Linked DNA regions of Homo sapiens: regions 1 and 3 are each linked to region 2. Evidence: promoter capture Hi-C in 16 types of primary human blood cells and fetal thymus (Javierre and others, 2016). All regions are on one chromosome and are shown on one strand. The core of a region is centred on a gene start or on the middle of the fragment in contact, and the rest is flanking DNA. Distances in the headings are between cores, read along the strand shown.

Evidence for each region. The method cuts DNA at HindIII sites, captures the fragments that hold promoters and counts their contacts. A CHiCAGO score of 5 or more calls a contact.
Region 1: a contact is called between a fragment that was not itself captured here and the fragment with the promoter of DIAPH2 in region 2, in 1 of 17 cell types (total B cells). The highest score is 5.0, in total B cells.
Region 3: a fragment that was not itself captured here is called in contact with the fragment with the promoter of DIAPH2 in region 2 in 1 of 17 cell types (monocytes); the score reaches 7.0 in monocytes.

The regions. Positions count from the first base shown.
Region 1 is chrX:96,838,658-96,841,892 of GRCh38, reverse strand. The region is part of intron 4 of DIAPH2 (diaphanous related formin 2); the gene reads right to left. Among named protein-coding and RNA genes, the nearest start is that of RPA4, 44 kb to the left of the region's middle. The HindIII fragment of the contact is 1,164 bases long and covers 1,357-2,520 here.
Region 2 is chrX:96,683,468-96,686,562 of GRCh38, reverse strand. DIAPH2 (diaphanous related formin 2) reads right to left here and starts at 1,721. Exons shown (of 27, transcript NM_006729.5): 1 at 1,373-1,721. The coding sequence starts at 1,504. RefSeq lists enhancers at 504-1,217, 1,218-1,933. The HindIII fragment of the contact is 2,760 bases long and covers 1-2,530 here.
Region 3 is chrX:96,449,095-96,452,360 of GRCh38, reverse strand. The region is part of intron 1 of LOC107985714 (a long non-coding RNA gene); the gene reads left to right. Among named protein-coding and RNA genes, the nearest start is that of DIAPH2, 230 kb to the left of the region's middle. The HindIII fragment of the contact is 1,937 bases long and covers 329-2,265 here.

The sequences.
Region 1 (3,235 bases), core at 689-3,188, 160 kb before region 2:
CAAATCCTATAAAACTGCCCCACCCCTAACTCCTTTAGCTGACTCTCTTTTCGGATTCAGCCCGCCTGCACCTAGGTGATTAAAAAGCTTTATTGCTCACACAAAGTCTGTTTGGTGGTCTCTTCACAGGGACACGCATGACAGAAAGTTTACAGTGCATTGGGAAATTATGAATAACAATCAGGCTAGAGTGCTGGGTGTTCTGGTTAGTGGGGAATGGGTAGCAGAACAAAAGGAAATGATAGGTAGTGCTGGTAGAAAGGTAGGTTTTGGAACCAAGCTTCTAAGAACCCTGGGGATCTTGCCATGCTGGATGACTGCTAGACAAAAAGGAACACATGATTAGATTTATTTTTAGAATGACAACTCTGGATGCACTTTCAAGGCATAAGGAGTGCAATCTGAGAGGCTCTTATAAAAGTCGTGGCCTAAAAATATGGAAGTGGGAAGGGAATGGAGAGGAGAAGGCAATTATTTCAGAAGATATTTCATTACTTAAGAGGTTGAAATGTGAACAAATTGAACACAGTGAGCCAGGTTCCTTTGATTTCTGAGTTCTTTCTCTATTTTCCCAATTCTAAATTTCTCAATTCCCAAGAAACACTCACATGATGGGCTTGGCATTACTTTATTTAATAAGAGGATAACATAAGCATGAAAGTGAAGAGGACTCTATAAACGTTTAGAATATATGTTGAAAAGGAACAAAAAACACATTACTAATCAATAGAGGGGAGGGAGAATATTTTTCAATCCAGAGAATTCATGGGCAGTTCACATTCAAAATGCAAGGCAATTGGTTCTGATTAGTTGAGTCTTCAACAGTGTGACTTAAATGGTAGAGATTTAAAGAAGATAATGGCAATGAACATTTAATAAGAGAAATAGCATCAACAGAACTATCATTCATGATATGTGATAATCTTCCATTAGATATCCAAAACTAGAAGAGAAGGGAAACTGATTAACATCTCAAAATGGGCCGGGCACGGTGGCTCACGCCTGTAATCCCAGCACTTTGGGAGGCCGAGGCGGGCAGATCACAAGGTCAGGAGATCGAGACCATCCTGGCTAACACAGCGAAACCCCGTCTCTACTAAAAATACAAAAAAAAAAATTAGCTGGGCATGGTGGTGGGCGTCTGTAGTCCCAGCTACTCAGGAGGCTGAGGCAGGAGAATGGCGTGAACCCAGGAGGCAGAGCTTGCAGTGAGCCGAGATCACGCCACTGCACCCCAGCCTGGGCGACAGAGCCAGACTCCGTCTCAAAAATAATAATAAAAAAAAATCCCAAAATGAACAAACAACACAGGAAAAGGCTACTTCAAGAGAGAAAGAAATGTAAGAGGGCCAAGCTTATTGCAGAACATGGACCCTGGAATGAAGGTGGGCCTCATTTCCTCTTGCAGAATATAAAGAGGTCAAATAAGATCAGTGATTCCCAGTGGAGAATGTAAGCTCCCCTACCCCAGGTTATGGGCTGATCAGGATCATATTGAATGCATTTACTCTCCAAAACTACAGAAGACAGCTCCTCTCACCTGGATTTTCCAATAATCCCTTACTAGGGAAGTATGCACCACTTGATAAGCCAATAGCACTATTCACAGTGTGCCATATCATCAGGGATACAGGGATGGGAAATAAATCGAGACTCTAGATCTGCACTGTCCAATATGGAAGTCATTAGTCACATGTGGCAACCAATCACTTGAAATGTGGCTAGTTGGAATTAAAATGTGCTATAAATGTAAAATACACATCATATTATGGAGAGTTAATAAAAAGATATATCTCATTAATTTTATATTGATCACACATTAAAATGATAATGTACTAAATATATTGGATTACATAAAATAAATTATTAAAATGAATTTCACCTGTTTCTTTTTACTTTTTAAATGTGGCTTCTAGAAAATTTTAAATTACATATGTGGTTTGCATTATATTTCTTCTAGACAGCTCTGCTCTAGATGAAATTTTTACATTCCTTCTGGTGTAATAATTCTATGCTATCAAGACTTCACTGTTAAAAGTAAAGTATAACTAGTTCTTGCATCTTTGTAGGAAATAATACAAAAATTGAAATTCCAAACATAAAAGACTGCCATTAAAAACCACCAAATACAAAATAACATTATAAGCACCAACATTAATTTTAAGAACATGAAATTTAAGTTTATTACTTAAAAGCATTCACATCTGACAGAAAGGGGAAAAAGTTCATGCCCGAGGTAAAATGTTCTTTAGCTTTAATTAAACTCTTAAATTAATGTTGAATATAATTTAACAAAAATTAGGTATTTAATTGTTTCAGGGATTTAATTGTTTTAGAAGTCACTTATTAGCATAGGAAAAAATTAAGTGTCTGTAAATTAAAAATGACAATGTACCATTTTTCTAACAAGTAATTAAGCCATCGTTAGCAATTTAACATAATCAGAGAGATTCTCTATAATATTTTATTTCCAGAATACTGGCAGGACATTTTAGTCATAGGAGGCAAGACCATTAAGCTTTATTATACATTATGACTGAAAAATGCATGCTTTAGAAACAGAATACTGGCAAAAAGAAACATTTAAGCGCAATGGGGGGAATGGTATAGGCATTTAGGGGAGTGACACTTTCAAAATTTTCTGACCATGAATAAAAGCTTCAGTTTTGGAGTCAGACAGATTTGGTTTCAATCTAGCCCATCTGACTCCAAATCTCACGTTCTTAAGCACTTACATGTTTTTATTTACATTGTTTGGCCCTGCTAACATTTTTTTCTCATAAATCCCTTCCTTACAGGTTATCCTGTAAAATCTGACACTATATATGATATAGATGTATTGTGGAATATAGGGTTTTTTCTCTCTAATTAACAAATGAGAATTACATGCAGCAATGAAGATTCAAATATACATCTAAAAATTTGATGATAAACATTAGAAGCCAAATTTTCTGGCAGGAGAATCACCTACTCTGATAGCATATTTAAATAATGACTTAGGGAAATTCATTATAATTCTGCATAGACCTAGCTCCTATACTAGAAACATGCCTCTAGGCTCATTTGTACAAGAATTTCTTATTCAGCATCTCAGCTGCACAGGTTTCCACACAGAAATGAGCAGGTAAAAATGGTTAGAGCTTCATAATGAGTCAACATTAACATAATTACTTTCCATTTCATCTATTACGGTACACTGTTTGACTCTCTCATTTCTTTTCATTTCAATCATTCC
Region 2 (3,095 bases), core at 472-2,971:
ACCGGAACAGTGAAGTTAGCTAGGAACTGAAAATGATACGATCTCATAACTATCTAGTTACCTTGTCAAAGCAAGTAAAACATAAAAGATGAATCAGGACAAATGGCTAAAGGGAAGAGAAGAATATAATCAAGGTGTTACTACTAACAGAGATAAGTGTTTTTTTTTTTCTCGAAAGCATACTTCTTAAAAGTGGCAGATTCTTGCTAGACGTACCAAACCATTTGTGGAAACTATCAGTTAACTTTTTACTTAAATTTTTAATCACTGATTAAACCACAGTTTTGTACTGGATCCAAACCAAATGGCCAGATGCCATAAGAAACGGCTTTATTTATATGTCACCCTCTCCTTGTCTATTATAATCAAGTTGGTAGTTAAAGCTGAAATCTATACATTCAACATGTGGCTTGTGCTTCGGATCTGGACTAAGAATACAGCTCTAAGGAGTATCTGCTGAATTTGTACAGGAAAACCCTTTCCCCTCACACCACCCAAATTAGAAAGTTTACAAAAAGCGGAACCCTTCTGATGAGCTGAGGAAACTCCAGTATTTCCCAATGCAATACCAGGCCTCATCGATTTCATTCCTCTGCACATTCAGTGGCAGGAAATGGACTGCTACCATCGGTTCACACTATCAGCACGGTGAGATTTGCACAGTTTGTGCCTACTGCTTTTGAGCGTTCTTAATCAACTAAGTGGAAGTACTGTATGACTATGCCTATTACACACACTCGACAGTTGGTGGTACCTCACCCAGCCTCAAACTCCCACGCGCCCCCACCCTTCCAAAGAAACATTTCTTGGGAGAGCACATGGAGAGAGGCAAGGAGGAGGAAAAAGGCACGTAGGCGCCTCTTCCTGAGATTTCTGGTAAAGTAGAAAGACTGGGAGCATAAATAGTGTTCTTCTTGATTTGCGAAGCTGTAGGTGGGCTCCCAAGGACTTGGAATAAAAAGGAGGGAGGTTCCCCTGCCCCGGACCCTACGCGTTAGGAGGCAAAACAGCAACTAACAAGAAGTGGGAGGAGAATGGAATCGCGCAAAGGTTTGCGCCCACAAGTTAGACAAACAACAGCCCTACCCAGTACTCGGGGTGTCCCCAAGTTGGGGCTGGGCCTTTCTCCTTCCCGCACCGCCTCCCGGGCTGACAAGAGTGAGAAAGGGGTTAAGTAGAGAAGGGGGTGCTCTTCCGCCCCCACGCCGTCTCCGCGCCTCGGCGTGGCCACTCCTTTAGCGGCTCCCCGAGTTGCACAGCGAGGTCGCGGTCATCCTTGGGAGGGGGCCCCGGGTGCCCCCGTGTTCAATGGCAGGAGGATCCCGGGGCTCTCCCTGTCCCTAAGGCCGGCGGGGGCTGCGGGAGCACTCACCAATTTGGGTTTGTTTTTCGTTTCCTCTTCATTGGCGGCCCGGTTCCCCGCGCTCCGCTTGTTGCTCCGGCCCCCACCGGGTTCCTCGCTGCCGCCTCCCGCTCCCGACGCCGCCGCCCCGGGCTGCTCCATCTTTCTCCGGCCCTGTCACCTGTGCCCTGTAACCCCACCTCTCCTCAACTGAGAAAGCACCTCGGGGCGCTCACACTGCCCCGCGCTGACTCGGCGGCACCTCTTCCTGAGGGAGAGAGTGTCTGCCCGGGAAGCTGCCGATTTCAGGCCCCCGGGACTCCAGGCTCCCAGGCACCCCCGACGCAACCACGCCGTTGCCACTACTCGGCGCTGGGGCAAGCCCTGCCCCTGAGCAGTTGCAATTACCACGGTCGCCGCCGCCCTCAGGGCGGTGTTTAGGGTGGAGGGAAAAGTAGGTGCCTATCTCTTTAAGAGGGCCTCAACACACGTGATTCTTCAAAGTGCCCGCATCGGCCGCCCGGGCGCGCAAAGCTGCTTCCTACTCCCGCAGCCGAGCCGGCCCCAGCTACTGAGCATGCCCGGCGCGGTGACTGGAGCCTAACAGAGCACTTTCAGCTGCGGTTAGGCACTGATTTCACTTCCTAGTGGCCCAGCGAGAACAGGGAGGGAACTAGTCAAGAGAAAGGAAGGGTAGCCCATTTTAGAGATGGGGAAACTGAGGCCCGGGAAGATCCGCCTGTAAGTTTCACTGGCGGGTCAACCTGAGTATCAGCTTTCACTTCTGTGGGCCACAGCACCTTCCCTCCCTGAGGCCTCTCCGGGGGTGTGGTCCTGCTACAGTCTGTGGAAAGACTTGATTGGCAAGGGAACTGGCATCCTATAGGAAAACCACCGGGAGTGCTGATTAATTGCCTCGACAGACTGTGTGTGGGTCAGAGTGGAAAGAGTGAGTGCTTTCTGTTGTCGTGATTACGTTGTGACCGAAGAAATACAGTTGTTCCTTTATTCCCTTGCTGCAGGGTTGTTGAAGCAGCAGGCGCCCACCGCTTAATCCCTAGGGGATTGTTAGGTTCTATAACCAAAACACTTACATACAGCTAGCAATTGAATTGAGTGCTATTTTCAGGTTCCCGAACTAGTTTAGAGTTGTTGTGGGGAGTGAATAAGATCATGTGTGTCAAAGCTTTGTTGTAAATGAAAATCCCTAGACAAATGCTAGGTGTTTTTGTGCAGCAGCAGGGCACTGTTGGGACGATAGTCTTAAGTCCTTGCGTCATACCTAGCATTTTGTCCTCAGGACAAAATATAGTACCCACACTGTATTTCTTCCATCCTCTTTAAATGATGCCCTTTAAAAGTAAAGGTACACACTGAGAACATTAGACGGGGTGGGTAGGATTTGAATGAACCACCATCATAGAATAGGAGCACATATGCTAGGAAAGCTACCTATAAAGTAAATTTAAATATGAAATCTATAAACATGCCATACACCTATTACTGAAGATATCTCCAGACTATGACTCCTTTTGACCTTCTCCCCTTCGGCCTAAATTTAATATGCTGAATGGAATTTGTATCTGAACATATTTATTGAGAGTGCATTAGGATGCATTTGACCATGCTATAGGTGCAAGGAGACAGCTAACTTGGGCAGTAGAATGAAAAGAACACCAGATATCTGAAAACAGCTTTAATTCTAGCTTTGTCATTGTCATTAACTTTCTTTTTTTTTTAATTCTGAGACAGA
Region 3 (3,266 bases), core at 48-2,547, 230 kb after region 2:
CCTGAGTAGCTGGGATTACAAGCGCCTGCCACCACGCCCAGCTAATTTTTATATATACGTATTTCTAGTAGAGATGAGGTTTCACCATGTTGGCCAGGCTGGTCTTGAACTCCTGACCTCAAGTGATCCACCCACCTCGGCCTCCCAAAGTGCTGGGATTACGTGTGTGAGCCACCGTGCCCAGCCAGAAGTCTTGATAAAGTACATGACAAGTGAGCTGAGGTATAAAGGAACTGGGGGATTTGAGGATTTGTTGAGGAGGCACTGTGAGAATATTTAAAGTAAGGAGACCTCATGTGTGAAGGTACAGGGTTGCGTATGAGAAGCTTAGGTGATAGTAGTCGATTAACCTGGCTGTGGAGGATGGTGGAGTGTGGAGGACCTAATATGATAGAAACTGTTACATAGATATAGGATGAACATCTCTAAGACACATTCCCTATAAACCCGCAGTATAAATGTATAGCACAAAGATTTTTATCTTGTTCTGACTTCTTATTGGATGAATATCTTACTGTTAACATATAACTACCATCCAATTAAGATTATTGCTCAACTCATGTAGTTAGTTAGTAGTCCAGATTTACCCAACATTAAGATGTAGCAAGTAATATGAACTATATTGGAACTTAAAAAATATTTATATGTTTTGTTGACTTCAAGGAGTGTGGCCTTAAGCAAGCTCTCTAATGTCCAGTTATCTGGCATTTTTGACAAGAAAACAATCTTTAACATGCACAGCCGTTATCATCACTGTCTTGTAATACACTAGAAGACAGTGACAGCTATCCAGTGCATCTTAGATTTATAACTCCTCAGAGAATAAATGCATTGAACATTCTATACATTATTTCTACAGTATGTCTAAAGTTACTGCTAAATACTTAATGATGGAAAGATAATCAACATGGATTTACATTTTATTGTGACAATTTTCCACATCAATCTTGGGAAATTTCCACTTAACATATATTTGGCCTACGAATGGCTTAGAAGATTACAAGAAAGAGGAGTGAGAGAGGATAAATCACTTGGCTAATAAAAATTGAGGCAAAGATAACCCATTGATAATAGTTGATGTCTTTTTAAATTCCTGAATGCAGTTTTCTGAATTTATTGTGAACTTGACTCAAATGTATGTCAATTTTTAACAGCATTAATTACTTGGAATTCTCCACATTGCCTGTTTCATTTGTTTGTTTGTTTTGAGATGGAGTCTTGCTTTGTTGCCCAGACTGGAGTGCGATGGTGCAATCTTGGCTCACTGCAACCTCCGCCTCCCGGGTTCAAGTGATTCTCCTGTCTCAGCCTCCTGAGTAGCTGGGATTACAGGCATGCACCACCACACCTGATTAACTTTTGTATTTTTAGTAAAGACGGGGTTTCACCATGTTGGCCAGTCTGGTCTTGAACTCTCGACCTCTGGTGATCTGCCTGCCTCTGCCTCCCAAAGTACTGGGATTACAGGCGTGAGCCACTGGGCCCAGTCCATATTGTCTTTTTTGATTTTCCACTCAGAGTTTCTATTTTGTTTTGAACGTGCTTTTTTTTTTTTTTTTTTTTGAGACAGAGTCTCACTCTGTTGCTCAGGCTGGAGTGCAGTAGCAAGCTCATAACTCAATGTGACCTTGAAGTGGGCTCAAGTGATCCTCCCGGTTCAGCTTCCAGAGTAGCTGGGACCACAGACTCGTGCCACCATGCCCAGCTAATTTTTGTATTGTTATTCTTTGTAGAGATGAAGTCTCCATGTGTTGTGCAAGCTGGTCTTGAACTCCTGGCCTCAAGCGATCCTCCCGCTTTGGTTTCCCAAAGTGCTGGGATTACAGGTGTGAGACACAATGCCCAGCCTGAGCATGCACTTTTTAACCTTTCCGCTCAGCTCCTGATTTATTAGCATGTGTTGAAATTCAGTTTTATGCCATCTAAAGTTGCTACTTTGAAGTTACTCTTTGGGAATCACTGTAATGAGCCCTTTGCACAATATGGAATATATCTTCTTGTTTGTGTACAGACTGTGCTATCATGTATGGCACTACCCATCCCATTTCTTCATATATTCCTCTGCTTAGGAGGTTACTGCCTAGCTATACCCCAGTGTATTTCCTTACTCTCAGTCTATGAGATAGAGATAGAAATCCCTTAGATCCTTCCACCCTTTATTTGATTCCTTTAACTCTTGGTAGCTCCAATTCTGTCTCTGGCAGCTGTAGGGGAAACCTCTTGTTTAACCTTCCCTGACAGGCCCTGGGATAATTCTGGGAAGCTTTACTAACTTTCCCTTCTACCCCCCTAGTGTTTTCTTTCCTTTGCAGATGTTTTTCTGTGCTTTTCATAACCATAAATTTATTTCAGATGAACCACTGTAGTTTACAGTTGTTGCAGTTTTTCTCATGCTAAGGTTCCAAACAAATTTTAACAGCTGCTAAGGAGGCTGGCAAAAAGCCTTGATTGCTAATTCTGTGTTAAACTACTTTTCACAATGGGACATTCTATAATATTTGGTATAGTCTCTAAAGCAAATGATTTCTATCTTATATTATTACTGTTTGTATCATACTCATTCGTAGTTTAAAAAAGATTCCAAGTCCATGCTTTCCAAAATGGGCTTGATTTTATTTAAAACTTTATAGAAAAGTTAGGGGTTCCCAATGTAATAGGGTTGTTATGATGGAGAAACAGGTAAGAGTGGTGTCAGTAAAGTCAAGTGAGTTAACACACAAATATAGTAAACTGTACCTTCTGGAAACATTACTCTATAAAGGTGAACATTTGTTCTCTTGGCTATAATTTGTAAATAGGTGGAAGGGAAGCTGCTTGTTAAAATTGGAGCCGAGAGATTCGCATGTCCTTAGTGTGTTTCCAAGTATGCTGGGGTCAGGGAAGCTGGTTGGCAGTCTGGTGTGAAGTGAAGATGTGCTCAGAATCTCACAAATAAATCCATACTGCAGTAAATCCCCTGCCAGATAATAAAGCGCGCATCGTATGTGTAACAGGGAGATGGCGTATTAATGAGGAAGTCATTGAAAACAGAATTTGATCTGTAACTGCTGAAAGTTGCTTCAAAAGCCACATCTGATCTGCTAGTACCTCCAAATTATTTCACAACTAGTTATGAAACAATTTTTTTAAAACAATCTAACAGAAATACTGTGCTGTGCTGTATTTTCATCTGGTTTTTTTTGTTTGTTTGTTTGTTTTTTTTTTTGAGACAGGGTCTCGCTCTGTCACCCAGGCTGGAGTGCAATAGCACGATCTCGGCTCACTGC